7 separate regions of the Homo sapiens genome follow, and regions 1, 2, 3, 4, 5 and 6 are each linked to region 7. Evidence: promoter capture Hi-C in 16 types of primary human blood cells and fetal thymus (Javierre and others, 2016). All regions are on one chromosome and are shown on one strand. Each heading gives the region's core, a stretch centred on a gene start or on the middle of the fragment in contact. The rest is flanking DNA. Distances are from core to core; before and after follow the strand shown.

Region 1 (3,861 bases), core at 1,244-3,743, 680 kb before region 7:
TGTTTGTTACAGGAAGAAGGAAGCAAACTAGTATTCATTAAAGGTCTAATATGTGCCAGATACTCTCAATACGCTATTTCATTTAATCTTTACAATGGCCTACAAAGCCTTACAGAGGAGGTAATCAGATCTAAGAAAAGATAAGCTGTTTTACCAGGTCATACCATGAGTAGGTGATGAAAATCTGGGTTTCACTCCAGATCTACTTACTTAGACTCCATTCTCTTTTCTCATGCAGCAAGGCTGACTTTTAGGACAAACCTAGAGAAGGTTATTTTAAAGTAGCAGCACCTTGGCCAGAGAGAAGCCTAGCGATTTATAGTATGCTTGCTTTTTTAGAGAATATATCTGCTGAAAGAATGGGAAAATCATTTGGCCATGGATTAAGTTAATTGAATTTATTCTGAGGTTAGAATACATTTAGATCTACCTTTACTGGGGAAAAACAACCATTACTAAGCCTTAGGGGAAATAAAAGGCTTGTTAAAAAATTTGTCACACATTTTTGACATCAGATATTTCTTTGAAATTGCATTCAGGGGCTGGGTGCAGTAGCTGACGCTATAATCTCAATACTTTGGGAGGCTGAGACAGGAGGATTGTTTGAGCCTAGTAGTTTGAGACCAGTCTGGGAAGCAGAAAAAGACACTGTCTCTAAAATAAAAAATAAAAAAAAATTTAGTCAGGCATCGTGGCATGTGCCTGCTACTTGGTAGGCTGAGGCAGTGTGGCAGGAGGATTGCTTGAGACCAGAAGTTCAAGACTGCAATTAGCTATGATTGTGCCACTGATCTATAGCTTGGTGATGAAGCAAGATCCTGCCTTAAAAAAAAATTATACTTAATGCAAACAAGCAATAAATTACATATATCTTAAAATATGGGTTTAAAAACAAAATCATTTAATTAACACTTCAGATTGTATTTAACCTACGATCATCATTTTATTTTAGAAGATTTAAAGAGACACCCAAATGTCTGCTTCTTAGACATTTAAATAAGTAAAGTTGGTTGTTGAGCTTCTTAGGATAGTTTTTCAAGCATTCTTTTGAATCTTTCTCTCTTATGTTCTTTATTGAAGCTAGTTTAACTTTAGCCAAGTTGTTACTTTCTAGGAGACATCATTTTCTTTCCTGCTGCCACTGCGGATCACTTAGAAAAGTGTTTGAACAAACAGCTGTGTTATCTTTCTAACTGGGCATTGAGCGCTCCTGTTGCCTAAGGACCAATCTTTTTAGAATTCATACTCAATAGAGTCTTCATGAGAAACTGAAATGTAGTAAAATAAATCATAAAAAGTCTGTTTACTCTAGGTCAGATATTGGGAACTAGTGATATGTAGCCATTAAGGTGAGTGGAAGTAAACATCCTAACTATCCGGGATAAAGAAAGTTCACAATAATTTTTCTTGCTCCTTATCTCTCTTTCAATGAGGTGTCACCAGATGGCAGACTGTGGCATGCAGCCACTTCCCCTGCTATGTACTCATCGGCAGATCTATGTCAGCTTACTTTAAGTCTAGCTTTCCTGTTTAACAGTAATAGAATAACTAGTGATAACTTATTTAATCAATACATTTTCTTTTCCTAATATACTTTAAATGTGATAGAAAGTAGCTTTATATAGTATTAACCGATTTGGTTCTGTCTCCCTTCCTTTTCCTGTCTTACTAATAAACCTTTGATCATTAGAGTTCTGCGTATCTGAAAAAATCATGATACCGAGCGAAAAGAGTTACACAGAGTAAGAGATGATTTCATGGGCTTGGTTTGTCACATTATTTATTTGGTACGTTTTATTAGAATTTTTCCCAAAGCACATTTCATCTAATTATAAAGCATTCTGTCAGATCTATATATTTTATAATATTGGTCATGTATCTTTAATCTTTGAAGGAAAACTATTATATAACTTCAATACTGACATCATCGTAACAGGTTGACTGGTTCACAAAACAAGTTGCACAGCTATAGCTAAAGGGAACAGTACCAAAGACTAAAAACACTACAGACAGCAAGTTCTATATTTAGACTTGACATGATATCACGGCCAGGGAAACATTTTACATAAGCATTTTTAAAGCATGCTTGAAAGTTTCTCTGACATGATATTAGTTAGAGAACCTCCTAGTGATAGCATGACATGATTCTTTGGTGCTAAATGTATGTAGTATGCTGCACATAAGCAACTGGCTGTATATAAGCAACTGGCTTACAAAAATAACTACATGGATATTAAGTAAAAAACCTGATGGAAAATCTTCAAATGAGTACATTCTTTCCCTAGGTAAAATGTGTTAACCAATGTAGTTGTTCCAATAAATTCATTTCACTACATAATTACTTTTATTTGTAAAAACTTCTGTAATAGTCTTTCTACAGTAAATACACTTCTCCTAGGGATGGGTATTGAACACAGTGTGTGAAAGGCAGTATGCCATAAAAAGGAACAAGATCATATCCTTTGCAGGGATATGGATGGAGTTGGAAGCCATTATCCTCAACAAACTAATGCAGGAACAGAAGACCGAACACTGCATGTTCTCACTCATAAGTGAGAGCTGAATGATGAGAACACAGGGACACATAGTTGGCAACAACACACACTGGGGCCTGTGGGAGAACGGAGGGCATCAAGCAAAATAGCTTATGGATCCTGGGCTCAATACCTAGGTGATGGGATGATATGTGCAGCAGACCACCATCACACATGTTTACCTACATAACAAACCTGCACATCCTGCCCATGTACCCCCGAACTTAAAAGTTGAGTGGGGTGGCGGGGGAGGAGGCAGTACGCCCAGAACTTTGGATAGAACAATGTGTAAGATGCCGTTAGTTGTATCTCTGAGGATTTTAATGTAATGAGGAAGAAGGACAACAATATATTGTGATTAAAATAGAATCTGATTCAAAGAGGTATGAAAGTACTAAAGAGGAAATATCTAACTCCTACAGGCAAACTATCTGGGTAGATTTTTCAAAGGACACATGCTCATCTTCATCTCTAATTCCCATATATGCCCCCTCCCACTTGAGGTTGGGTCAGACTCTTCCAAAGACAGCCTTCCCATGCCCAATATATTCTAACATCTCTCCCTCCTGCACTCATCAGAATCTCGGTGGTAGTGGAAGATTAGTTTAAAAAGTGCTTCCAGATCTTTCCTCTTTATGGACAACCAAACTTAATCTTGTTTTACTTTTAAATGGTGTGGTCTTGGTAATTTGTCATGTGTGTCTAGTGGTACATGTTGTGGCATGGGCTTAGGGGGAGTATGAGGAAAGTCCGAGGGATTTCTGCAGAAATTGTTCCAGATATTTTTCCTTTTTAATGACTTTAAAATAGAGATATTTGTCAATGTATTTGGGTAACTCAGGCAAAAATCTGGGAGACTTTGCTAAAGACCTCCTCAACTGTCTTTGCCCAGGCTTTCTGTACAGTTCTCCTGGCTGCTTTATTGTTTTCACTAATGGTTTGCGGTTAATTCCTAAGAAAGCCAAAAATAAATGCGCCAAAAGCCAACGAAACGAGCCTACATCTTAAAATTCAACCTAATGGCATAATGATGATGGTTCTACTTAAGCAAATATTAAAGACAAAAAAATTATTTATGTTGAGCCAAACCACTCCAACTATCCAAGGGATGGTAACATAATGAAGTGATCCTCATTGAATTCTGCTGAGGGTATCAACCTCACAGTCACGTATTCCCTCCTGACCACAGGGAATTACTATAACGATTTCCAGAGTTAATGCAAGATAGTTGTTAGAGTAAATCTTCTTAAAATCACAACAGACGCAGTCCAGCAGATTAATAGGACTCCTTGAAAAGAACCAATCCATAACTTGGTACAGAAGGATT
Region 2 (3,721 bases), core at 728-3,227, 700 kb before region 7:
AATGATGAGAAGCTTTTGCTTAATTATACTCAGATGCATATCATAGATGATAAGTAAAGTAAAATTGATGGCAAAGATGGTATTTCACAGGAGTTGAGTTCTATCAAAACTTTTCACTGTTTTGTTGAAACCTATTCTCTTCCTCACCTGCTCCTAATTCAGCTCAGATCCGAAATTAATTGAAATCCATTTCTAGGTTTCTTCAGTACTTTTGAAATAAATACTCAGTACTTATCTGGATAAGTTCTACAGCAAATGTCTACTCCTGAAGTGACTGCAGTGCTATATATGGTCCTCCTGAAGGAACTCGGCTGCTACAAATACCAGCTTTTCTCACCAGATGGTGTTGCTATCAAGCATAGCCTTCCTCTGCCTGAGACTTTGCTGGTCCTCACTGGAGTAAGGTCTCTGTGGCCCTATGAGAGACTGACATATACAAACTGAGAATGGTCAGAACATATAAGAAATCGAGCTCTGACCTACAATCTGCAGCAACCAGCCTAGAACTCAATTATTTACAGTTACCAGCCCAGAACACCAGCCTATCTATAAGTCAGACTTTCAGGAAGTCAGACCAGTATGTCCAGCAACCAGCCTAGAAACCTAAACAATAGCCCCTGCAACAATCAGCTACAGATGCCCAGGACTTGATTAGTAACATCTTTTCTTATTTTTGTCTCTGCATTCAACTTCAGACCAACCCAAGAAAACTTAATATACACCCCTAACCAATTACAGAGGGTGCTTTGCTTCTAGTCAGCCCGCCTAAAGCTTTCCCATGCCAATAGCCTCCAGTCAGGGCACACCTGAAGCCTTCTCTTTTTTCCCCACTACAATGCTTTTCCACTCCTTTGAATTTCTGTTTACAGACAAATGATGGTGGCTAACTCCCTCCCTATAGCTCTGAATAAATAGCCTTTATCTGTTCTCATTTGCTTGGTCTTTATTTATTTCCATGCCTGGCTCCTGGCACAGGTCAGCATGGTTTGTGAGGCTGATTCTTCCATAAGTGTCATACCTGATGAAAGATACCACTTCTCAGGGCCAGGGGTTGCTTCCTCAGTCTGAAGTTTTAGGACCCAGGTTGGCTACTCCTTTCTAGCTCTGGTCATGCACTCAGAGATCAGGCTGCATTCAACCTGCTGGAATACAAAGAGCTAGTTCTGTCTTTCCTTGTCACACTGGATTGCCTACTGGGCAAGGCCTAGATGTCAGACACCACATGCCTCTTTAGATGGGGCTTGGAATACCCTCTGCTCCCCACAACACAGTGAAAATGCTCTTTAAAAAAAAAAAAGTAGGGAAAATTGAAGTGCAATTGAAATGTTTGGCATATCCTCTTATCTAAATTAATCAAACTTCGTTTCACTGGCATTCAAACAGCTTCTTCGAAAGTCACCTGAATGTTTTAGTCAGATAGATAATTAGCGTCTGAAAGGCTCAAGTTAATCTTTCCTATCATTGAAAATCCTATTATGAAATACTCAGAACTGAACAATTGGTATTGCCTTTAATATATTACCTGGTATATGACAAGATACATATATATACATATATATGCGCATACGTGTGTGTATGTGTGTGTATGTGTGTGTGTATGTGTATATATATTTGTTTTGAGACTGTCTTGCTCTGTCACCCAGGCTGGAGCGCAGTGTCATAGCTCATTGTATCCTCAAACTCGGCTCAAGGGATCCCCCCATCTCAGCCTCCTGAGTAGTTGGGACTATAGGCACATGCCACCGTGCCCAGCTATTTTTATATATTTATTTGTAAAGACAGGGTCTCACTATGTTGCGTAGGCTAGCCCTGAACTCCTGGACTCAAGTGATCCTCCTGCCTCAGCCTCCAAAAGTGTTGGGATTACCAGTATGAGTCACGGTGCCCAGCCTAGGTAACATTTGTACATATCTTAATGACAGCTCCTTCAGCCTCACTACTACCCTGCCATGAGCCCCAGTTTATCTCTTGTGGCTATCTTTAATTTTCAGAGCCTGAAAAACACTAGCTCATTGTTTTATGGTAAAAAAAAAAGTTTTTCAGGGGCAAATATGTGCTTCATTTATGGTAAATTTGTGTTCTCCAACTTTATTTACTTAATGTATTTCTTGTTCTTCTGCATATACAATGTCTTATCATTTCAAGGCTGCTTTGTAGTGTAATCTCTATGCAAACATGTTAAGTAAAGCAAATTAAGATGCACCATGTATTGTGCAGTCAGTGCAAATAGCCTAGGTGACAATCTGATGAATGGATAGATGTCTTCCACCTTGGGCCAACTTCACATATTTGTAAGGGAAGACAATGTTGTCACAGCTTCTCTGGAGTTTTCCTTTGATATTGATTGTAAGACATATCGATTTCAGAAACACCAAATTGCAGGAAAAAAATGCATCTTAGCATTGAGAAATATGGTCATTATAAAATGACAAAGTCTCATCCTTTCCCAGTTCAGAAGCTGAGCTTGGTCCTGTTGCAAAAGGCAAAAACCTGAGAAGCCAAACTTAATGTGTTCCTTTCTCTTGCTCCTCAAAGCTCATCCATCAGCACTTCTATCTCCCAAGTGCATCTCAACTCTACATATTTAACTCCTCTGTCTACCACTACCATATTCCAAGGCATCATCTCATCCCTGGGCCACTGCTGTGCCTCTCTGCCATCATCCATGCCTTCTTCCCCTCTATTCTCCAAAGCACCTGCAGAATAATCTTTTTTTTTTCACTTTTTTTTTTTTTTTTTTTTTTTTTTTAGACAGAGTCTAGCTCTGTCACCCAGGCTGGAGTGCAGTGGTGCAATCTTGGTTCACTGCAACTTCTGCCTCCTGGGTTCGAGCGATTCTTCTGCCTCAGCCTCCTGAGTAGCTGGGATTACAGGTGCATGCCGTCACGCCCAGTTAATTTTTGTATTTTTAGTAGAGACAGGGTTTCTCCATGCCTGTAATCTCAGCACTTTAGGAGGCCAAGGCAGGTGGATCATGAGGTCAGGAGTTAAAGACCAGAATAATCTTTTAATAAATGTGATCATATTACTCTTCTGCTAAAACTCTTCAGTGGATCCCAGTTGTCAATCCGATAAATCCTAACTCCTCTATGTTTGGGCAGGCACACTACTCCAAATGCATCTCTGCTCCCCTCCCTGCCATACTTCAGGCACACTGGCCTCCTTCTCATTTTCTTGTACTGTCAAAGCTTTCTTGATCTAGGGACTCCTACCCCACCAATATCATCACTTTCTTCTCACCACTGACATCATTTTTCAGGTCTTGGCTTAAATGTCAACACCACAGAGAGGTTTTCCTGACAGCCCCACTCAAAATAGGTTTCCTGTCCCTATGTGCCCTCCCGCCACCTGCTTGCTTCTATTGCACCACTTTTCTTTTGTAGCGCTTATGATTATGTGAAATTATACATTTATTTTTTGGTGAGTAGGCTAACCCCCGAATGGGAAGCAGCATGTTTGTTTTGTCACAAACCAAGTGCTTGGCTCCTAGTATTGATCCATAATTATCTGTGCAATAAAGACATTAAAGGAATAGAACTCTAGACATGGAAGGCTAGAGGGCTGTGTCAACAAGCAGGGCCTCAAGCCTCAGGCTGAGAGAGAGAGAGAGAGAGAGGTGTATCCAGTAGGACAGTATTTCATTGTAGAAGGAATATTGGCTGGGGACCGTGAGGTCTGACTTCAGGTCTCGGCTTTGCCATGTAATAGCTGCATTAACTTG
Region 3 (4,117 bases), core at 33-2,532, 680 kb after region 7:
TAAATGAGTAATCAAGTCATTCCCACACAAGGAAATGCTAAGGGCAATTGTCACAACGAGACTGGTCCTACAAAAAATGCTCAGAGTAGTTCTAAATATGGAAGTGAAAAGATGATACTTGCTACAATAAAAGCACTCATAAATACAAAGTACACATACCCTATAAAGCAAATACACTATTGAGACTACAAAGCAACTACCTAAAAACACTATGACAGGAACAAAACCTCACATGTCAATATTAACTTTGAATGTAAATGGCCTAAATGCTCCACTTAAAAGATGTAGATTGGCAAATTGGATAAAAATAAAAACCCAACCATCTGCTGCCCTCAAAGGACCCTTAATGAATAATGACACCCACAGGCTCAAAGTAAGAGAAAAATATGTTATGCAAATGGAAAACCAAAAAGACCAGGCATTGTTATTGTTTTACTATATAAAACATACTTTAAATCAACAACAGTAAAACAAAACAAAACAAAACGTAACAAAACAAATTAAAGAAGGGCATTATATAATGATAAAGGGGTTAATTCAACAAGAACATTTAACTATCTTAAATATATACACAGCCATCACCAGAGCACACAGATTTATTAAAGAAACAGTACTAGACCTAAGAAAAAGAGATAGATAGCTATATACTATAGTGTGGGAATTCAACACCCCAGTGACAACACTAAACAGATCTTTGAAGTAGAAAACTAACAAAGAAACTCCGGATATAAATTAAACTCTTGAGCAAATTGACCTAATATATATCTATAGAACATTCTACTCACCAACTGCAGAATATACATTTTTCTCATCTGTGCATGAAACATTCTCCAAAATTGACCATATACTTGGTCACAAAGCAAGTCTCAATAAATTCAAAGGAATCAAAATCATATCAAGTATTTTCTTAGACAACAGTGTAAAAAATAGAAATCAATACAAAGAGGAACTCTCAAAACTACACAAGGACATGGAAAATAAACAGGTTGCTCCTGACTGATTTTTGGGTAAACAACAAAATTAAGGCAGAAATCAGAAAAAAAAATTGAAACAAATGAAAATATATACACAGCATCTACACAGTAACCCCTGGGATACAGCGAAAGCAACGTTAAGAGGAATGTGTATAGTGCTAAATGTCTATATTAAGAAGCTGGAAAGATCTCACATTAACACAAAAAAATTAACATTGCACTTCAAGGAACTAGAGAAACAAGAACAAACCAAAGCCAAAGGTAACACAAGAAAATAAATAACAAAGATCAGGGCAGAACTTAATGAAATCGGAACCAAATAAATCATATGATGTATCAACAAAATGTAAAGTTGGTTTTTTGAAAAGGTGGTGGAATTGGGTGATCTGAAAGAGGAGATGTAGTCAGCCAACAAGAAGACCTGGGGAAGAATCTCTCAGGTAGAGGGAGAACAAATGCAAAAGTCTTGAGGTGGGCATTCATGAGTGGCTATGAAGGAAGAAACAGGAGCCAGCGTGCCTAAGAAGAAATAAAATTGATGGACCACTGCCTAGATTAATGAAGAAGAAAAGAGAGAATATTTTAATAAGCTGCACCAGAAATGATACCCATGATGTTACAACTGATACCACAGGCATATATGTAAGATTATCATTGACCATTATGAACATCTCTATGTTCACTAACTAGAAAACCAGGAGAAAAAGGATAAATTGCTAGATACAACCTCCCATGATTGAATCAGGAAGAAATTTAAATCCTGAACATAACAATAATGAGCTATGAAGTTGAATCAGTAATAACAAATCTACTCACTAAAAGAGCCCTGTATTAGATAGACTCACACCTGACTTCTACCAGCTATGCAAGAAAGGTCTAGTACCCATCTTACTGCAAGGGTTCAAAAAAATTGGCAAAGAGGGACTTCCTGATACCAAAATCTGGCAAAGACCCAAGAAAAAAAAGAGGAAACCTCAGGCAGAAATCCCAGATGAACAACCTCCAAAAATTTTCAACAAAATACTAGCAAACTGAATCCAGCTGCACTTCAAAAACATAATTCATCATAATCAAGTGCGTTTTATTCTGGGGATGCAGGGGTGTTTTAATACAGATTAATAAATCTGATACACCACTAAACAGAATTAAAAACAAAAACCATATGATTATCTTAATAGACACAGAAAAAGACACATTTGATAAAATCCAACATCCTTTCATGATAAAAACCTTCAACAAACTAGGCATTGAAGAAACATAACTCAAAATAATAAAAGCTGTATATGACAAACCCACAGCCAGTATCACAGTTAATGGGAAAATGTCAAAAGCATTTTCTCTAAGAATTGGAACAAGAAAAAGATGTTCAGTCTCACCACTCCTAGTCAACATAATATCGAAAGTATTAACCGGAGCAATCAGGCAAGAGGTAAAAATAAAAGGCATCCAAACTGGAAAAGAGGAAGTCAAATTATCTCTGTTTACTGATGACTAGATCTACCTAGAAAACTTTACAAATTTCTCCAAAAGCCTCCCAGACCTGACGAACAATTTCAGTAAACTTTCAGAATACAAAATTAATGCACAGAAATCAGCTGTATTTATATGCACCAAAAATGCTCAAGCTGAGAACCAAATCAAGAATACAATCCCATTTAAAATAGCCACAATAAAATTACCAAGCAATTCATTTAACCAAGGAGGTGAAAAACTTCTACATGGAAAGCTACAAACACTGATTTAAAAAATTGTAAATGACACAGACAAATGGAAAAACATCCCATGCTCATGGATAGGAAGAATCAATATTATTAAAATAAATATACTGTTCAAAACAATCTAAAAATTCAAAGCTATTACTATCTAATTCCAATGCCACTGTCAATTCCAAATTAGTAATGAACATAGATGCATGACTGCCCTTCTTAATCTGAGTCATTTACCAGTAATACTGTCATTCTTTTTACTTTCCCCTTAAGCATTTTTCTTAAGCTTTAAATAAGCTAAATTAATCCTGCTTCCCCCAAAGCCATTGTCTGCAATATACTCATGTATTTAGAATGATCATCCCAAGGAATCCCACCTGTTTTGTCTGCTAGTGACATTTTAAAACTCACTCTGAGTGTATCTTCTTGAGATTCTTTTACCCACCACAATTATTTCTCCACTCACTTGATTAAAAAAATAGAGCAAGTTAAGGGCCTTGCATTACTTAATATATTACAGGCTTCATATATAAATGCACTCCCACTATTGGATTCCTACCTCTTACTTTGTCCTCTGTGCCCTTACTATTTTGTAGGGACCCATGAAATTGTACACTTTATTATCATCACCAGAGTTTTTTTGTTTTTTTTAATTTTTATTTCTTTTTTGAGACAGAGTCTCACTCTGTCGCCCAGGCTGGAGTGCAGTAGCGTGATCTCGGCTCACTGCAAGCTCCGCCTCCCGGGTTCACTCGCCATTCTCCCGCCTCAGCCTCCCGAGTAGCTGAGACTACAGGCACCCACCACCACGCCCGGCTAATTTTTGTATTTTTAGTAGAGATGGGGTTTCAACCTGTTATCCAGGATGGTCTCGATCTCCTGACCTCGTGATCCGCCCGCCTCAGCCTTCCAAAGTGCTGGGATTACAAGCATGAGCCACCGCGCCCGGCCTATCATCACCAGACTTTTAATTGTCAAAGGCAAATTGTCTAATTTGCTTGTTCCACAGCATATTAGTCCATTTTCATGCATCTGATAAAGACATACCTGAGACTGGGAAGAAAAAGAGATTTAATGGACTTACAGTTCCTCATGGCTGGGGAGGCCTCATATGGTGGAAGGCAAGGAAGAGCAAGTCAGGTCTTACACGGATGGTGGCAGGCAAAGAGAGAGAGCTTGAGGAGCTCTCTTGAGACTTATTCACTATCATAAGAAAGACCCGCCCCCATGATTCAATTACCTCCCACTGGGTCCTTCCCAGTACATGTGGGAATTGTGGGAATTACAATTCAAGATGAGATTTTTGTGGAGATACAGCCAAACTATATCACTCAGTTTAGCACAAAAGAAAGTAAATAGATCCAGAAGAAAATAAGTGGCAAAATTTGTAAAGGGAAAATGCTATGCTGATAATCTATCTTTATCAACTTTATCAAA
Region 4 (3,898 bases), core at 591-3,090, 710 kb before region 7:
GTTTTTCTTTTAGGAATTTTTTTCATATTTTACTGGCCAGGGACCCACTGATGTAGGTCTCAAGAAGTTATATGTATCAGAATAACTTTGGAGCTTCGTCAAGTTATTCACATTGACCCCTTGCCCCAGATTTGACATATCCCCCTTTTCCCAGGCTGGGATCTACTTTTTCTAAGTTAATACATTGTGTGTCTTCCCCAGGATTTTGGCAGGTATCCCATAGTACATATCAAAACATGAAAGGGGTAAAAGAATGGGGGCAGGGCAAAGTTGTATAGCTTTGAAATTTCTCACGGGACATTCTGATACCCCAGCCTTCAACCCTCATTTGAAGACAGTTCTTCTCTACATAGTGTTAGGAGGGCTTACAAGTAATTTTCAGGGACTCACGTTAACTTAAGAAGTACAGGTGTTAGTAGCATGAGTACCTACAGATTGATTGGGGAAATAAGCTGGGGACAACTAAGTAATATGGAGGCCATCTATGTAGCCTGAACTATCATTGCGTGTTAAAGTAACAGATTCACCATCATTAAGATTTAGGCAAGAGGAAGACATGCTTAGCTTTCAATGGGCAGGAACCTGCTAAGTTACTGAACTTTCAATAAAGGATATAGCGGGTCTGATTTTGCTTGGCCGTTTTTCAGATTTTCTGTGCTTTAAAAAGATTTTGTGAATCACAGAATGTCTTCTGTTTCGTGGAGGAGTTGCTGTGAACCTTCCATAGAAGATGGTATGCCATTTTACCACTTTGTTTATAAAATTTATTCATATTGGTATATTCATTCAATTACTCATTTAATAAATTCTTAGTCATTAAATGTAGAAGATAATAACAAAATGAGATGATTGCTATATCCTTTCATACAACATTATTTTGTGATTTTGCTATATGACAAGTGGTACATACATGCAAAAGAAAACCTCAAACAACATTCTCAAATAGTAACTTAGAATCATGAAGCTGCTCAGAAAATATTGTACATGCAGTTTAATCTCATGTCTTTTATTTATCACACAATTATTTATTAGATTCTTATGGTTCCGTTGGTTTGACTTTGTGAAGTGTTTGGAAAAAGGTGTGGCTAAAAGTAAGACATTTGAAATGAAGTCATCTAGTGCAGTAATATAGGGGGAGGAGTTTCTAAAATTTAAGTTCACTGTTCAGGAGGCTGTGGGTTAGAGATTCAAACAGAGCTAAGTACTTATTGGGGCTTAATAATTGCCTAGCTCTATGACCTTGGGCCAATTTAATAATTTACCAGATCTCCAATTTTTTCACCTGCAAAATGGAGCTAATCTTGCCTTTCTTAAAGAATTGTTAAAAGGTTTAAATAAGAAAAAATTTAAAGGCAACTACTATGTTGCCTAGTAAAAGAAAGTTATTATTAAATATGAGTTTCCCTTCCCTTTAGGGGGCTTTTGAGATTTCAGATTTGCACAGTCAGTTCATTTGTCACCATTGATGAGACACTTAAACTGAACTGAAAATTGTGAAGTCTACATACCCTTGAATGAATGAAGGTGACAGTCAGATTTTTGCTCTTCAATATACCAATACTGTGTTTCTACTTCAGTGAGAAAATAGTTTCTTAACCTCAAGTTTAATCATTTGATTCATATCTTAATAGTAGTTATTTTAACAGTACTTTTATTTGTTTTACGTTCATTTCATGTCCCACAAAAGTACAATGAGATTGATTAAAATTGAAGTAATTTTAAAGCTAACTTGAATGTTGTAGTCAGGGGCAACTATCCTGAATCTTGTAGCAGTTCCCTCACTGACTGCTTCTGACAGATATTTTCATGGTTCTCACACAGGAAACAGTAATAACAGTGTTTATTCCAACAATCCTGCTCAAGAGTTAATGTGGTATGAATATAGTAAGTCCTCACGCAACATCATCAATATATTCTTAGAAACTGCAAACTTCAAGTAAAACAACATTTAATGAAACCAGTTTTACTCTAGGCAATTTTTTCCTCTCATTAACTTTATAAAAAAATGACATTGAATAAAACAATATTATTTGAGGAACTGCTGCACTTGTTTTTGCAAGAATTTGCCTTTAAAAAAATGCTTATCCATGTTCTGATACTGTTACATTTAGTCTTTACATGTCTAGAACTTTCCAATCATGTATTTCTCTTCTTTTCTTGTGTATCCTTGTATTTAAAATGATAATTTTAAATCTACCTTTTATTCTCGGTGAACTTCAGGATATAATGCTAACTGTTGTAATAAGTTTCTTTTCTTTCAGAGAAACTGTTAGTTATCTTTCCTCAGTATCACAGGCTTATATCCTGACAAGACCAACCAACAGGTATTGAGTGTTAGTTGTTTTAACAAAATGTTTGAATGATATAACTGAAGTTGCATATCATTAAACAAATATCAACAACAAAAAAGCAGAAAACAAGAAAAGTTTCTAGGCATGAAGTATAACGTATGGGGAATCTTTTAAAATATAATTTAATATTTTAATAGAAGTGCATATCACATTTTTGTGGTTAATCGTTCCATGTTACTCAATCTTCCCATTCAGCGGAATGTGAGCCACTTGAGGTTGCAGGTTTGTTTTAATGAATGTGGGTGTGAGACACAGTTAAGCATGGGATTAAAACAGAAACACTAGTCCATTGCAGCGTTATTCACAATAGCCAAAAAGTAGAAGCAACCCCAATGTCCGCTGATTAATAAATAAATGGATAAATAAAATGCGGTATATACATGTAACAGAATATTATTCAGCCTTAAATGGGAAGGAAATTCTGACACATGCTACAACATGGATGAAACTTGAGGACATTTTGCTAAGTAAAATAAGCCAGTTGTAAAAAGACAATTACTGTATAATTCTACGTAAATGAGGAACCTAGCGTAGCCACACTCATAGAAGCAGAAGATAGAACGGTGGTTACTAGGGGGTTGGGGAGTGGGGAAATGGGGAGTTGTTTAATGGGTACAGCGTTTAGTTTTGCAAGATAAGAGTTCTGGAGATTGATTGTACAACAATGGAATGTACTTAACACTACTAAACTGTATACTTAAAAATGGTTAAGATGGTAAATTTTATGTTATGCATATTTTACCACAATTTAAAAAATGACTCTAGCTTAAAACCCAAAAAGGCTAACAATAATTGGGCTAGGTGCTGTGGCTCATGCCTGTAATCCCAGTGCTTTGGGAGGCTGAGGTGGGAGGATAGCTTGAAGCCAGGAGTTTGGGACAGCCTAGGTGACATAGTGAGACTCCATCTCTATTAAAAAATATATATATAGCTGGGTGTGTTGGTGTGTGCCTGTAGTCTTAGCTATCAAGGAAGCTGAGGCAGGAGAACTGCATGAGCCTAGGCGTTCAAGGTTGCAGTGAGCTATGATCTTGCCTCTGCACTCCAGCAGCCTGGGCAACACAGCAAGACCCTGTCTCTTAAAGAGAAAAAAGTGCTTTGGGAGGCCAAGGTAGGCAGATCACGAGGTCAGGAGATCAGACCATCCTGGCTAACACGGTGAAACCCTGTCTCTACTAAAAATACAAATAAATAAATTAAATAAATAAATAAATAAATAAATAAATAAAAAATTAGCTGGGCGTGGTGGCGGGCACCTGTAGTCCCAGCTACTCGGGAGGCTGAGACAGGAGAATGGTGTGAACCTGGGAGATGGAGCTTGCAGTAAGCCGAGATCACGCCACTGCACTCCAGCCTGGGCGACAGAGAGAGACTCCGTCTCAAAAAAATAAAATAAAAAAAAGAAGAGAAAAAAAATGCACTGTAGTCTACAAATCTTTTTTTCTCCTCCACTTTATGACCTTATATATGCCACTGTACAACTTATAAACTGTAATAACCTTAGTATTGGGATATCAGGAATGTGACTTTTCCAATTAGAAATGTCT
Region 5 (3,905 bases), core at 315-2,814, 670 kb after region 7:
GAAACATCAACTCAGATCTTTTACCCATTTTTTAATCAGATTATTAGATTTTTTTCCTATAGAGTTGTCTGAGCTTCTTATATATTCTGGTTAAGAATCCCTTGTCAGATAGGCAGTTTACAAATATTTTCTCCCACTCTGTGGGTTGTCTCTTCACTTTGTTAATGGCTTTCTTTGCTGTGCAGAAGCTTTTTAACATGATGTAATGCCATTTGTCCATTTTTTACTTTGTTTGTGATTGCGGGGTATTACTTAAGAAATTTTTGCCCACTCCAATGCCCTCATGAATTTCTCCAAAGTTTTCTTTTAGTTGTTTCATAGTTTGAGATCTTAGATTTAAGTCTTTAACCCATTTTGATTTGATCTTTGTATCAAAGATCAAATGGTGAGAGATAGGAATCTAATTCCAATCTTCTGCATGTGGATCTCTAGTTTTCCCAGCACATTATTGAAGAGAATGTACTTTTTCCAATATACATAATTTTTGTCAAAAAAGTACAAAGATGCTTTTGACAAAGCATCCTTGTCAAAAATGAGTTCACAGTAGACATAAGGATTCATCTCTGGGTTCTCTGTTCTCTTCTTCTAATCCATGTGTGTTTCATGCCACAAACATGATGTTTTAATTACCATAGCTCTGTACTATAATTTGAAGTCGGATAATGTGATTCCTCCAGTTTTGTTTTATTTCCCTTAGGATATCTTTGGCTATTTGTGGTTCCATATACATTTTATAATTGTTTTATCTATTTCTGAGAATAATGTCATTGGTATTTTTATTGAGATTGCATTAAATCTATGGGTTGCTTTGGATAGTATGGACATTTTATTAAAAATATTAAGTCTTACAGTCCATTAACGTGGAATATCTTTCCATTTCTTTGTGACTTCTTCAATTTATCACATCAATATTTTATAGTTTTCATTGCGGAGATCTTTTACTCCTTTGCTTAAATAAATTCCTGGGTATTTTATTTTGTAGCTATCATATGGTATTATTTTCTTGATTTCTTTTTCTGATTGTTTGCTTTCAGCATATAGAAATGCTACTGATTTTTGTATGTTGATTTTGTATTCTGCAACTGTACTGAATTTATTTATTAGTTCTAATAGTTCTCTTGTGGATTCTTTAGGTTTTTCCAGATATAAGATTATATCATCTGCAAACAAGGATAATTAGACTTCTTCTCCAATTCGGTTTATATCTTTATATAATGCCCTTTATATCTTTCTATTGTCTGATTGCTCTAAGTAGGACTTCCAGGACTGTGTTGAAGAACAGTGGTGACAGTGAACATCCTTGTCATGTTCCAGATCTTACTGGAAAGGCTTTCAGGTTTTCCCCATTCAGTATAATAGTAGCTGTGGGGCTTATGTACGGCTTTTATTATGTTGAGAAGAAAATTTAAAAATTTCTTGAAACAAATGATAATAAAAACACAAATACCAAAACTTATGGAATTCAGTAAAAAGTAATACTAAGATGGAAGATTGTAGTTATAACTTCCTTCATCAAAAAAAAGAAAAACATCAAATACACAACTTAAAGGTGCATCTTAAAGAGCTAGAAAAGCAAGAGCAAACCAAATTCAAAATGAGTAGAACAAAATAAATACTAAAGATCAGAGTAGAAATAAATTTGAAATAAAGAATATAATACAAATAATCACTGGTCATTCAAGATCATATTTTTTAATTTCCATGTGTTTGTATAGTTTCCAAAATTCCTTTCATTATTGATTTTCAGTTTTATTCTATTGTGGTCAAAGAAGGTGCTTGATATTATTTCATTTTTTAAAATGTTTTAAGACTTACTTTGTGACCTAAAGTATGGTCTATTCTTGTGAATGATCTATGTGCTAAGGAAACAATGTCTATACTGCCGCCATTGGATGGAATGTTATGTAAATATCTTTTTGTCCAATTTGGACTACAGTGCAGATTAAGTCTGATGTTTCTTTGTTGACTTTCTGTCTGGAAGATCTGTATAATGTTGAAAGTGGGGTGTTGATATCTCTGGCTATTATCATATTGGGGTCTATCTCTCTCTTTAGCTCTAATAATATTTGCTATATGTATTTGGGTGCTCTAGCATTGGGTCCATATATAGTTACAATTGTTATTATTTTCTTTTTTTTCTTTTTTTTTGAGATGGAGTCTCGCTCTGTCACCCAGGCTGGAGTGCAGTGGTGCGATCTCAGCTCACTGCAAACTCCATCTCCTGGGTTCATGCCATTCTCCTGCCTCAGCCTCCCGAGTAGCTGGGACTACAGGTGCCTGCCACCACACCCGGCTAATTTTTTGTATTTTTAGTAGAGACGGGGTTTCACTGTGTTAGCCAGGATGGTCTCAATCTCCTGACCTCATGATCCACCCGCCTCGGCCTCCCAAAGTGCTGGAATTATAGATGTGAGCCACCACACCCGGCCGTTATTATTTTCTTGATAAATTGATTCCTTTATCATTATAGTGACCTTCTTGTTTCCTGGACTTTTTGTTTTGAAATCTATTTTGTCTGATATAAGTATAGCTACTCCTGCTTTATCTTGTTTCTGTCGGCATGGAATAGCTTTTTCCATCTGTTTATACAGTCCATGTGTGCATGCATAGGTAAAATGTAGGCAACAGATCACTGGGTATCTTTTTTAAAAAATCCATTTAAACACTCTATGTTGTTTGATAGGAGAGTGATATGGTTAGGTTCTGTGTTCCCAACCAAATCTCTTCCTGAATTTGTAATCCCCAGGTGTTGAGGGAGAGACCTGGTGGGAGGTGATTCGATCATGGAGATAGTTTTCCCCATGCTGTTCTTGTGATAATGTGTGAGTTCTCACAGGATTTGATGGTTTTTTAAGTGTTTGACATTTTCTCCTATACACACTCTCTCTGTCTCTCCCATCCACAGTGAAGAAGGTGCCAGCTTCCCCTTCTGCCATGATTGTAAGCTTCCTGAGGCTTCCCCAGTCAGGTGGAACTGTGAGTCAATGAAACCTCCTTTGTTTATAAATTACCCAGTTGCAGGTAGTATTTTTATTGCAGTGTGAAAATGAACTAATACAGTAAATTGTTATCTCAGAAAGTGGGGTACTGCTATGAAGAGTGGGTATCCAAAAATGTGAAAGCGACTTTGGAACTGGGTATCAGGCAGAAGTTGGAACAGTTTGGAGGGCTCAGAGGAAGACAGAAAGATGTGGGAAAGTTTGGAAATTCTTAGAGACTTGTTGAATGGTTTTGACCAAAATGCTATTATGGTCAATGAAGTCCAGGCTGAGGTTGTCTCAGATGAAGATTAGGAAGCCCCCACACAGAGTTCCCACTAGGGCATTGCCTACTGGGGCTGTGAGAAGAGGGCCACTGTCTTCCAGATCCCAGAATGGTAGATGCACTGAGAGTTTGCACCATGCACCTGGAAAAGCCACAGACGCTCAATGCCAGCCATGAAAGCAGCCGTGAAAGCAGCTGTGGAGTCTGTACCCGGCAAAGGCATAGGGGCAGAGCTGTCCAGGGCCATGGGAGCCCACCTCTTGCATCGGCATGAACTGGATGTGAGTCATGGGGTCAAAAGAGATTATTTTGGAGCTTTAAGATTTAATGACTGCCCCACTGGGTTTTGAACTCATATGGGGCCTGTAGCCTTTGTTTTGGCCAATTTCTCTTATTTGGAATGGGAGCCTTTACCCAATGCCTGTACCCCCATTGTATCTAGGATGTAACTAACTTGCTTTTTTACAGGCTAATAGGCAGAAGAGACTTGCCTTGTCTCAGATGAGACTTCAGACTATGTACTTTTGAGTAAATGCTGAAATGAGTTAAGACTTTGGGGGACTGTTGGGAAAGCATGATTAGTTTTAAAATGTGAAAAGGCATGAGATTTGGGAAGGGCTGGGGCAGAATTATATGGTTAA
Region 6 (3,887 bases), core at 291-2,790, 790 kb before region 7:
TAATTCTTCTATAAAATGTGTTGTATTATACTATGATTTAGATAAAGACAACTTAATACATTTTAAGACTAATTCCTTCTTTGTCTCCAGACTGCATCAACCCGACATTCCTTTCTTATACCAATGTGAAATTTCCAGATCATCTGTAAACCTACAACTTTAATAGAAGACTACTAATAACAGAAGACAAATTAGTGAAGAAAAGACGGAGTTTCGAAATTGAATGGCAGGGTGGTTTTTGCTTACAAGCCATTTCTGTTCATTCTTTAAGTATCTATATTTCATTTGTTTTGCACATATGCATATGTGCCCATTTAAGATATTTGCATATACTTGATAGAAACCATAAAGTTGTAGCAGTTAAGTCCAGTCACATTTGGTTAATCAGTGTTTGATATAATTGAAAGAGTTGAGTGGATAAACAGTCTTCCAGCTTGTAAATGCCATTGACTTCTGACCTGACATTTAGTATAATAAAAATGAAATTCTTAACCATGTCAAATGATTTAGTTTCTGGCTCTTAGACTCATCTGGCAGTTCTACACATGAAACATCTTTTGTTATATAAGGTGTATTGAAACCTGCAGTGCTGATTATTAGAAAGGATTTGTCAGATTTTTGAACATGATATTTACATTATTATTTAGGAAAACTCTTCCTGTAAATAACCATGCATAACTTACTTTCTGCAATGTTTTCTTAGAAATTGTGTCCAGATAGCTTTCACTAATTTTAAATTAAGTGAACTAAATATATATGTGTATATGTATACACATATATATACACACACACATATATATATTTAGAAACGTGAGTGTTAAAGATAGAATTTGTTTTAGGACAAATTTTAAGAAAATGTGGGAATACCAAATGTCCTTTATAAGAAAAATAAATTTTATTTTAAGGGACATACTAGTTTTAGGGATTTTCAGATGGGAAGCTGCATTTTTAGGATTGCCCATCTTAAGAGATCTTGCAGGAAGAGATTGTATTAGATATTATATTTATTTCATTTAAGATAATTTTCAAAGTTAATTTTCTAAATAAGATAATTCTCATTTGTGTTTGTCTTTTAAAAGGCCAATAAAATATCTTTCAGTATCATTGTAATAATTTTTTAGAGTTTAATTTGTAAAGCTTAGCAAATAAAATCTTGTACTATGAATAGCTTCTTGCTTTATGACTTTAGGATTAACTTGTAAAAAACATATCCTGAACTGAGATATGCAAAATACTCATTTTCAAGTTATGGAAATGTGTTTGTGGCATATAGGACTGTGGGGTCTGTGTGTGTAGTGAGAGTGTGTAGCCACTATTATAACTGGAATTTAATTTACATTCATAAACTACTATATTTCCCATCTTGCAAATCATTTTATGTCTCATCTGTTTTTCCTTTCGGTTATATCTTTGGTTTTGAATACCAACATTTAAAATGATGGTATTTTATCTTTTAAACTTAAAAATTATTTAATACAGCTATATGGACCTTATAAAATTGATTTCTTATTTATTATTAGACATTACTACTAAAAGGTACATCTAACTATTCAGGGACATTTTTCCATTTCCAAAAAATAAAATTTATTATGCTTTATAACCTCTTCTGTATTTTCTAATTTTTTCATTGTCTTTGATAAATAAAACAGTTTTGTTTTGCTAATATAGCCTATTTTTTGTTTTGTCTCATTCAGTTTACTTTCCTGCGTAGAATTTTTATTGTTATATTAAAATTTTTATTGTTGTATTAAAGTACCTGTGTTACACCCCTTGAAGTAAGACAGTAGCATGGGGTAAAGAAAAAATATTTAGTTTAGTTGCCTAATTTGGAAGTTAATTAAAATTAAACTGTACTAATAACATATTCAAACTCATGCTGGATCTCTTTCATATTAATTTCTTATAGACCTGTACTTTATTCTTTCAATAATTTTTAAATGAAATTAAGCTTTGCTACATGGTAATTAAATAATTACTAGGAAGCTTAGCTATCAAACATCGACTTACTAAAATTTCATTTTAGCTTTTATGGTATATGTGCTTGTTTTCTGAATATGGATACATGTTACTTTTGATCCAGCATCAAAACTTCACTTTTTGTTTTGACTTTTCCCCCCAAATCTGTAAGGTTCAAGTATACATATTACTGAATCCTCTATAATTGGCATAATTCAATGGTAGCCTTAAATCTCATCATGTAAGCAGGGGAATCAGAATGTTATTTTCAAGAACTTAATGTTCCCTTCAGATATATAAAATCCTGCATACTTCATTTCCTGTGAGCTTGAACAGCTGCTGTTGTGTTTTGGGGATGCTTGATCATCTTTGCACTCTGCCTTAAAGATTGAAAAATCAAAACTCTTGTTAGGGTATCTAAACATTTTTGAGTGTGAACTGGGGATTGGAAGTTAATACAAAAAAATTTCAAATTATTTCTATTGTAAATGAATAAGCTAGTCATGGCTAGGATAATCCATTTTCATGTATTTATGCAATAAACTGAATTTTAAGGCAAAAACAACACTTTTCTATATAGTGTATGCAGGACAGATTTTAGAAACTTAGATTAAAATACAAATCCCATTACATTTGGTTAAAATGAAAATCTCTGCTTAATGGAAAAAATACTAATCTTTAGCCTATTTTGAGTCTATAAGATATATTTCATTTTAGACATGCCTTCTAAGTTGTTCACAGATTTTTACCTGCTAAAACAATATTATTTCCAGTAAAACCTCTCCTAACAGGAAAAGTGGAGTTCAAAATATCCAATTGGAGAAAAATTCAGAGTTCCTTCATTAAATATAATTTTTTTCATCTAGTATGTACTATTTCAAGAAGTGCAAAAAGTAATGATAGTGAATGTGATACCATACTTAACTAAGGTAATATATATCCTTAGTTTGCTCAAAAGAGTCCTGGTTATTCCTGTTTTCTCAGCTTAATAGTGCCTCATCGTACTCTCAAAAGTGTTCTAATTTGGAGGATAAGTTATATGATCATCCTGTGTATAATTGTAGACTGTACCAAGAAGCAACTACCTTAGCTCCACTGCCCTTTGAGGGATGGAACTGGGGTAAGGGCAGGAGCCAGTTATTATTGCCACAGTGTTTTCTAATGAACCATTTGGCCTGTAGAAGAGGAATAGTATTTTTTTTAATAGTTGTATTTGAATGATTCCAGCTTATCGTAAATACTAAACTGAATGGCTTTTATATTTTTAACTGCTGTTAAATGTTATTTTAGCATTTATTAGTTGTTTATTATTTAATTCTTCAAATAGTCATATGAAAACATATATTTGATAAAGGTCAATTGTTAGATGATAATGTGCCATTCATTATCATAGGAATGTCCTTGCCCATATATAAAACATGCTGGCATGTATTTTACTTGTTAATAAAGTTGTATAGATGTGGAAGTGTGAACCTGTGATGCATCCTTTTCAAAATCAGTTTAAGATTCGCATATTATCATGACTGTGACCTCACTAAACTGTTTATGTGACAAACCTTTCAAGATTGGAGATGAAAACAACACTTGTGAAATTAGGTTGGGGTTGCAACATCTTTTAACTTCTCAGTTATTTGTATGTCAGGAGACAGATTGTGGTTTAATTTTAATAAACAAAATATCATCTTTTTGAAAATAATTTATGTTCATTTCTACTTTGTAAAGTATCATTGGTCACCTACGTCAGACCTGCTTATGGGTTTGAATTCTTATTTGGGACATAATACCTAACGTGAAAATTTCCAGCAAGTAATTAAGAAAAATAGAAAACTCATTTCATACTTTTAAAAATATGTTTTTAAAGTTTAAGCTCAGAATATTTGCTTCTTTTACTTTTTTAATGTTTTGAGCTTATATTTCATTATTTTTGTTTT
Region 7 (3,667 bases), core at 47-2,546:
ATAAAAAATTGCCTATTTTGCCACCTACTTTCAGGTAATGGAAAATGATCGCGACCGCTTGATGACTTTCTTCCTGCGCTGGGTCAGCCCGAGCTTCCAAAAATAAAATAAGTGTGACCCAGGCTGACCACGAAGAACGGAAGAGAGAGAGCTGCACTTCCGAACCGCAGAGACCCGGCGCCAGGCAGGGCGACGCTCCCACCCGCTCCGGGCTAGACTGTCCACACGGAGCAGAGGCGGGCACTCCCTCCACCCGGCACCCTGCCTTTTTCTCACCCTGGAAGTCTCCTGCCCCCGAGGCGGGCAACCTGTGTCCCCCAGCCCCACCAGCGCCCCGCCTAGGGACAGCCTCTCCCTGGACTTTGCCTTCCACCAAGAGGAAGAACAGGTTAGAAATGCGGGCGCCTGCAAAGGCAACCTGGAAAATACAAAGTGTTTTTCTCTCCCTCTCCCGCTCTCAGCGCCGAATTCGCGGCCAGTGCACGGCTGGGAGCAGACTTCAGGCTAGCTGTCCTCCGTCCCAACCCCCTAGAGCGCGGGCGCGCGGGGTCGCCTGTCGGGGACACTGCACGGGGTGCATACAGAAGTCCCCGCAGAGGCAGGCCGAGCCCAAGCCCCGGGCGAGGCAGGTCCGCGGGGAGCGCCCCGGATCCTCGCGAAGACCCTGCGGGATTTGAGAAAGGGAGGCTCGGGGAGAGACGGACCCAACTCCTGGTCCGGCTGCACCTACTCCATGTTGCCCACAACGCGCCGGCCGCGGCGCCAGGAGGGGAAGAGCCAAACGTGCCTCACCGTGATCGCGGCTTTGCACCAACCCCTCTCCCTTGGATTCTCTTCTTTCTGCGATGTGCAAATAAATCCAGTCTCGATGCAAACTTTTTTCCTTTCTTTCCAACCTCTGCTTTAGACCAACTTCCGAGCAATCGGCGGGAGAAAAAAAGAGAATTCGGAGCCAGATTCCCCGCTGATGAACACTCCGGGGTTCGGAGCTGGAGACGACTCCCCTTCTACAAGCGCACGCGGAGTATTTCCTCTTTTTTCTCAATGAACAAGAGGCCGAAGCGCCAACGGCAAGTCCCTTTTCCTGGCAGATGAGCGAATGGGAAAAGAAAACGGCCTTACGGAGAACCTAAAGCCAGATCGCCAAGTGGTGCGGCCGGGGCCGCGTCGTAGCGGAGGCGGCGCGGGGGCGCGGGCCGGGCCGGGCCGGGCGGGCGCGGGGGCCTGGGCGCTGCGCGCTCCGCCGGCCCCTCTCCTCCGCTAGCGCTGCGGCGCGCAGCTCTCGGCGGTGCAGACTGGGCGTTGTGGAGGCGAGGCAGCGAGGCCGAGGCGGGGGCGGTGGGTGCGGAGGAGGAGGAAGAGGAGGAGGAGGAGGAGGAGGAGGGTCTGGGGCCCGCCCGGGGGGGGCTCGCCGTTGGCCTGCGCCCTCGCCTTTCCGGAGGAGGCAGGGAGCTCTGCGGCGGCCGCGGCAGCAGTAAATGGCGTCATGTGGATCCGAGGCGGAACAGAGCAGTTGTTGTCCCAGAGGATATATCGCATCCGGTCCCAGCTCATTGGCTCCGCGGGGCTACATTCACTCACACTCCAGCGCCCGCCAGCGCTCCGAGCCGCAGGAGGCATTCAAAAGGGCAACCGCGCCGCCCCGCGCGTCCCCAGGCCGGTCCTGCCGCCCGAGCGCCGTCACGCGGGGCGCCCGCGGGGCCGGGCTGGGCACTGCAGGGTCAGTTTATCTAGTTTCAAGGAAACACTGACCTTAAGGTTTGCCCAGAGGCAATGAGGACGAGCCAGAGGCTCGAGCTGACTTAGGGAACTTTCTCCTTGCCACCAGGAAAGGGGAATGAACATTTAAGACTAATCTGGGCCACGCAGTGTTAGCATGAAAAACAAGTTGCAGGTTTTAAGACTTTATCCAGAATCCATTTCAAGTCTACCTCTCCCCTTTTCTGTTCCCCTTTGCGGAGCGGGTGACGGGGGCTGGGGCGGGGGGAGAAGAAGGGGGAGGGGAAGGGGAGCGGGAAGTGAGGTGGGAGGGCTATTGGTTTATTCTTTGTCTACTGGATTAACCCGATTATACACCAGGCACCAGCACAAACCGCCTCCCCCACCTCCGAGCCTTGTACGGGAGGAACGGAATGCAGATTCGAGTTTCAAGTACCTTCTGCTCTTGCTGGGATTTGCTTTTGATTGTGTCGACTTGTAGTTTTTCCGTTTATTAGAATTTCATTTTTAAGGGGGGTTATCTATGAATGGAGGCTTTTTGAAGAGCTTCCTTACTATTTTGCTTCATGCAGTAGCTAAAGTCTACAGTCTAAGCCTTTTAACTTAATTCATTAATAGACAGGAACAAGATTACTCAGGGCGACAGCATGGGCTTCCGAAATGGGGGGGCGGGGGGGAGGGAAGGGTTGGCTCACTGCAGATTTCCTTCTTCCCTTAACTAAAAGTCATCCTTCATTTCCCACTTTTCTTGCCACCTAGAACATTTCTCAAGATTCTGTTGTCCATGTTGAAGGTGCACTATTCTTTCCCATTTACAAAAAAAAAATAAAGATAGAAAATGCATACATATGCACTGTCCTAGCTGCCGTTCATTTACTAAGAAATGTGCCTTCACGTGGGAGCACCAGTGGAAAATTAAAACTTGCGCATACACACGCCTAATATTGCATTCTGTCGAGCGACTTACAGAATGCTTTTACTTTACAGGGAAGTACCTGCTTGTACGGTCAAAATTCCCGAATAGCACCTGCGATCTTGCCCCATGCGGGGTGTTCTTGAAAGCAGTGTTAGGAAAACATGGTGCTTCACTCGTCCAGCTTTAACCCAATCCATTTGCAGCTACCCTGGAACTAGCTGCCTTCTTCTGAGCTCCTGCTCTAGAATGTCCCCAGCGCGCTCTCTGCCTCGCTGCGGTCTCACCCTGACTTCTCCATGTTTCTCTAGGGCTCTCCTCTTTCTCTAGGGATTTGGAACCAGAGATGGCAAGGGAAGTGGCATGCGTTATTTCCGGGCGCTGGCCTACGTCCCCCGACCCCTAAGGTGAGGGTGGACGAGGCTACAACGGCCTGCTCCCGAGCGTCCCGGGACTGCGGGCGCAAAACAGCTGGGCCTCTCTGGCCACAGCCGCTCGCCGGACGCCCGAATCCATTGAGCCGACGGTGAACGCAGGCGCCGCTGCGCTCGCGGCCCCTCTGGCCACCAGGGGGCGCCCGCCCGGCGCGGGGCTAAGGCTGCTTTCTTCTCCGGGACACGACGCGGACAGGCTGGGTTACCTTCCAAAACGTGTGTGCATTAGGCCGGCTGGTTTAAAATGAATACAAAGATATTAATATAAACGACACAGAAGATAGCTTGCCCTCCTGTCTGCTTGGGAGGGTCAAAGCCTGGGTGTGCAAGGCTAGGCAGGAACGTGCTGCCGGTGTGCGGCCAGCAAGTCTCTCGAGCAGAGCAGGTGAAAGCAACGCCGTCGCTTCGCCTCTTCAAACTCCTGCACTCGATGGCGGCTTTTTAGGAGACATCTGTGCCTTGCTGGTCTCCCAGCGCTGCAGGAACTTTGCGAAGATACATCGTTAGGGATCAAAGCATGCAATGGAATTTAGATCAGAAACTTCCAGCTGTTTAGAGAACCTTATATTTTTATGGAGTTAATAGGGGAAAATCTAGAAAT

The links. Contacts are between HindIII fragments. The CHiCAGO score rates a contact against its expected background, and 5 or more counts as called.
Region 1: a fragment that was not itself captured here is called in contact with the fragment with the promoter of SPRY2 in region 7 in 4 of 17 cell types (M0 macrophages, M2 macrophages, M1 macrophages and 1 more); the score reaches 6.0 in M0 macrophages.
Region 2: a contact is called between a fragment that was not itself captured here and the fragment with the promoter of SPRY2 in region 7, in 1 of 17 cell types (endothelial precursors). The highest score is 10.1, in endothelial precursors.
Region 3: a fragment that was not itself captured here is called in contact with the fragment with the promoter of SPRY2 in region 7 in 6 of 17 cell types (endothelial precursors, megakaryocytes, naive B cells and 3 more); the score reaches 10.3 in endothelial precursors.
Region 4: a fragment that was not itself captured here is called in contact with the fragment with the promoter of SPRY2 in region 7 in 1 of 17 cell types (endothelial precursors); the score reaches 5.0 in endothelial precursors.
Region 5: a contact is called between a fragment that was not itself captured here and the fragment with the promoter of SPRY2 in region 7, in 3 of 17 cell types (endothelial precursors, megakaryocytes and total B cells). The highest score is 8.5, in endothelial precursors.
Region 6: a contact is called between a fragment that was not itself captured here and the fragment with the promoter of SPRY2 in region 7, in 1 of 17 cell types (endothelial precursors). The highest score is 5.8, in endothelial precursors.

Annotation. Positions count from the first base shown.
Region 1 is chr13:79,661,627-79,665,487 of GRCh38, forward strand. No RefSeq gene overlaps it. Among named protein-coding and RNA genes, the nearest start is that of LINC01068, 97 kb to the left of the region's middle. The HindIII fragment of the contact is 5,202 bases long and covers 1-3,861 here.
Region 2 is chr13:79,642,461-79,646,181 of GRCh38, forward strand. No RefSeq gene overlaps it. Among named protein-coding and RNA genes, the nearest start is that of LINC01068, 78 kb to the left of the region's middle. The HindIII fragment of the contact is 2,417 bases long and covers 770-3,186 here.
Region 3 is chr13:81,022,968-81,027,084 of GRCh38, forward strand. The region is part of intron 2 of LINC00377 (long intergenic non-protein coding RNA 377); the gene reads left to right. Among named protein-coding and RNA genes, the nearest start is that of LINC00377, 6.6 kb to the left of the region's middle. The HindIII fragment of the contact is 3,363 bases long and covers 1-2,964 here.
Region 4 is chr13:79,624,546-79,628,443 of GRCh38, forward strand. No RefSeq gene overlaps it. Among named protein-coding and RNA genes, the nearest start is that of LINC01068, 60 kb to the left of the region's middle. The HindIII fragment of the contact is 5,462 bases long and covers 1-3,898 here.
Region 5 is chr13:81,005,152-81,009,056 of GRCh38, forward strand. No RefSeq gene overlaps it. Among named protein-coding and RNA genes, the nearest start is that of LINC00377, 11 kb to the right of the region's middle. The HindIII fragment of the contact is 2,757 bases long and covers 187-2,943 here.
Region 6 is chr13:79,552,426-79,556,312 of GRCh38, forward strand. NDFIP2 (Nedd4 family interacting protein 2) reads left to right here. Exons shown (of 8, transcript NM_019080.3): 8 at 91-3,652. Among named protein-coding and RNA genes, the nearest start is that of LINC01068, 12 kb to the right of the region's middle. The HindIII fragment of the contact is 811 bases long and covers 1,136-1,946 here.
Region 7 is chr13:80,339,830-80,343,496 of GRCh38, forward strand. SPRY2 (sprouty RTK signaling antagonist 2) reads right to left here and starts at 1,297. Exons shown (of 2, transcript NM_005842.4): 1 at 793-1,297. RefSeq lists silencers at 1,245-1,434, 1,665-1,714, 3,114-3,303 and an enhancer at 3,121-3,667. The HindIII fragment of the contact is 9,098 bases long and covers 1-3,667 here.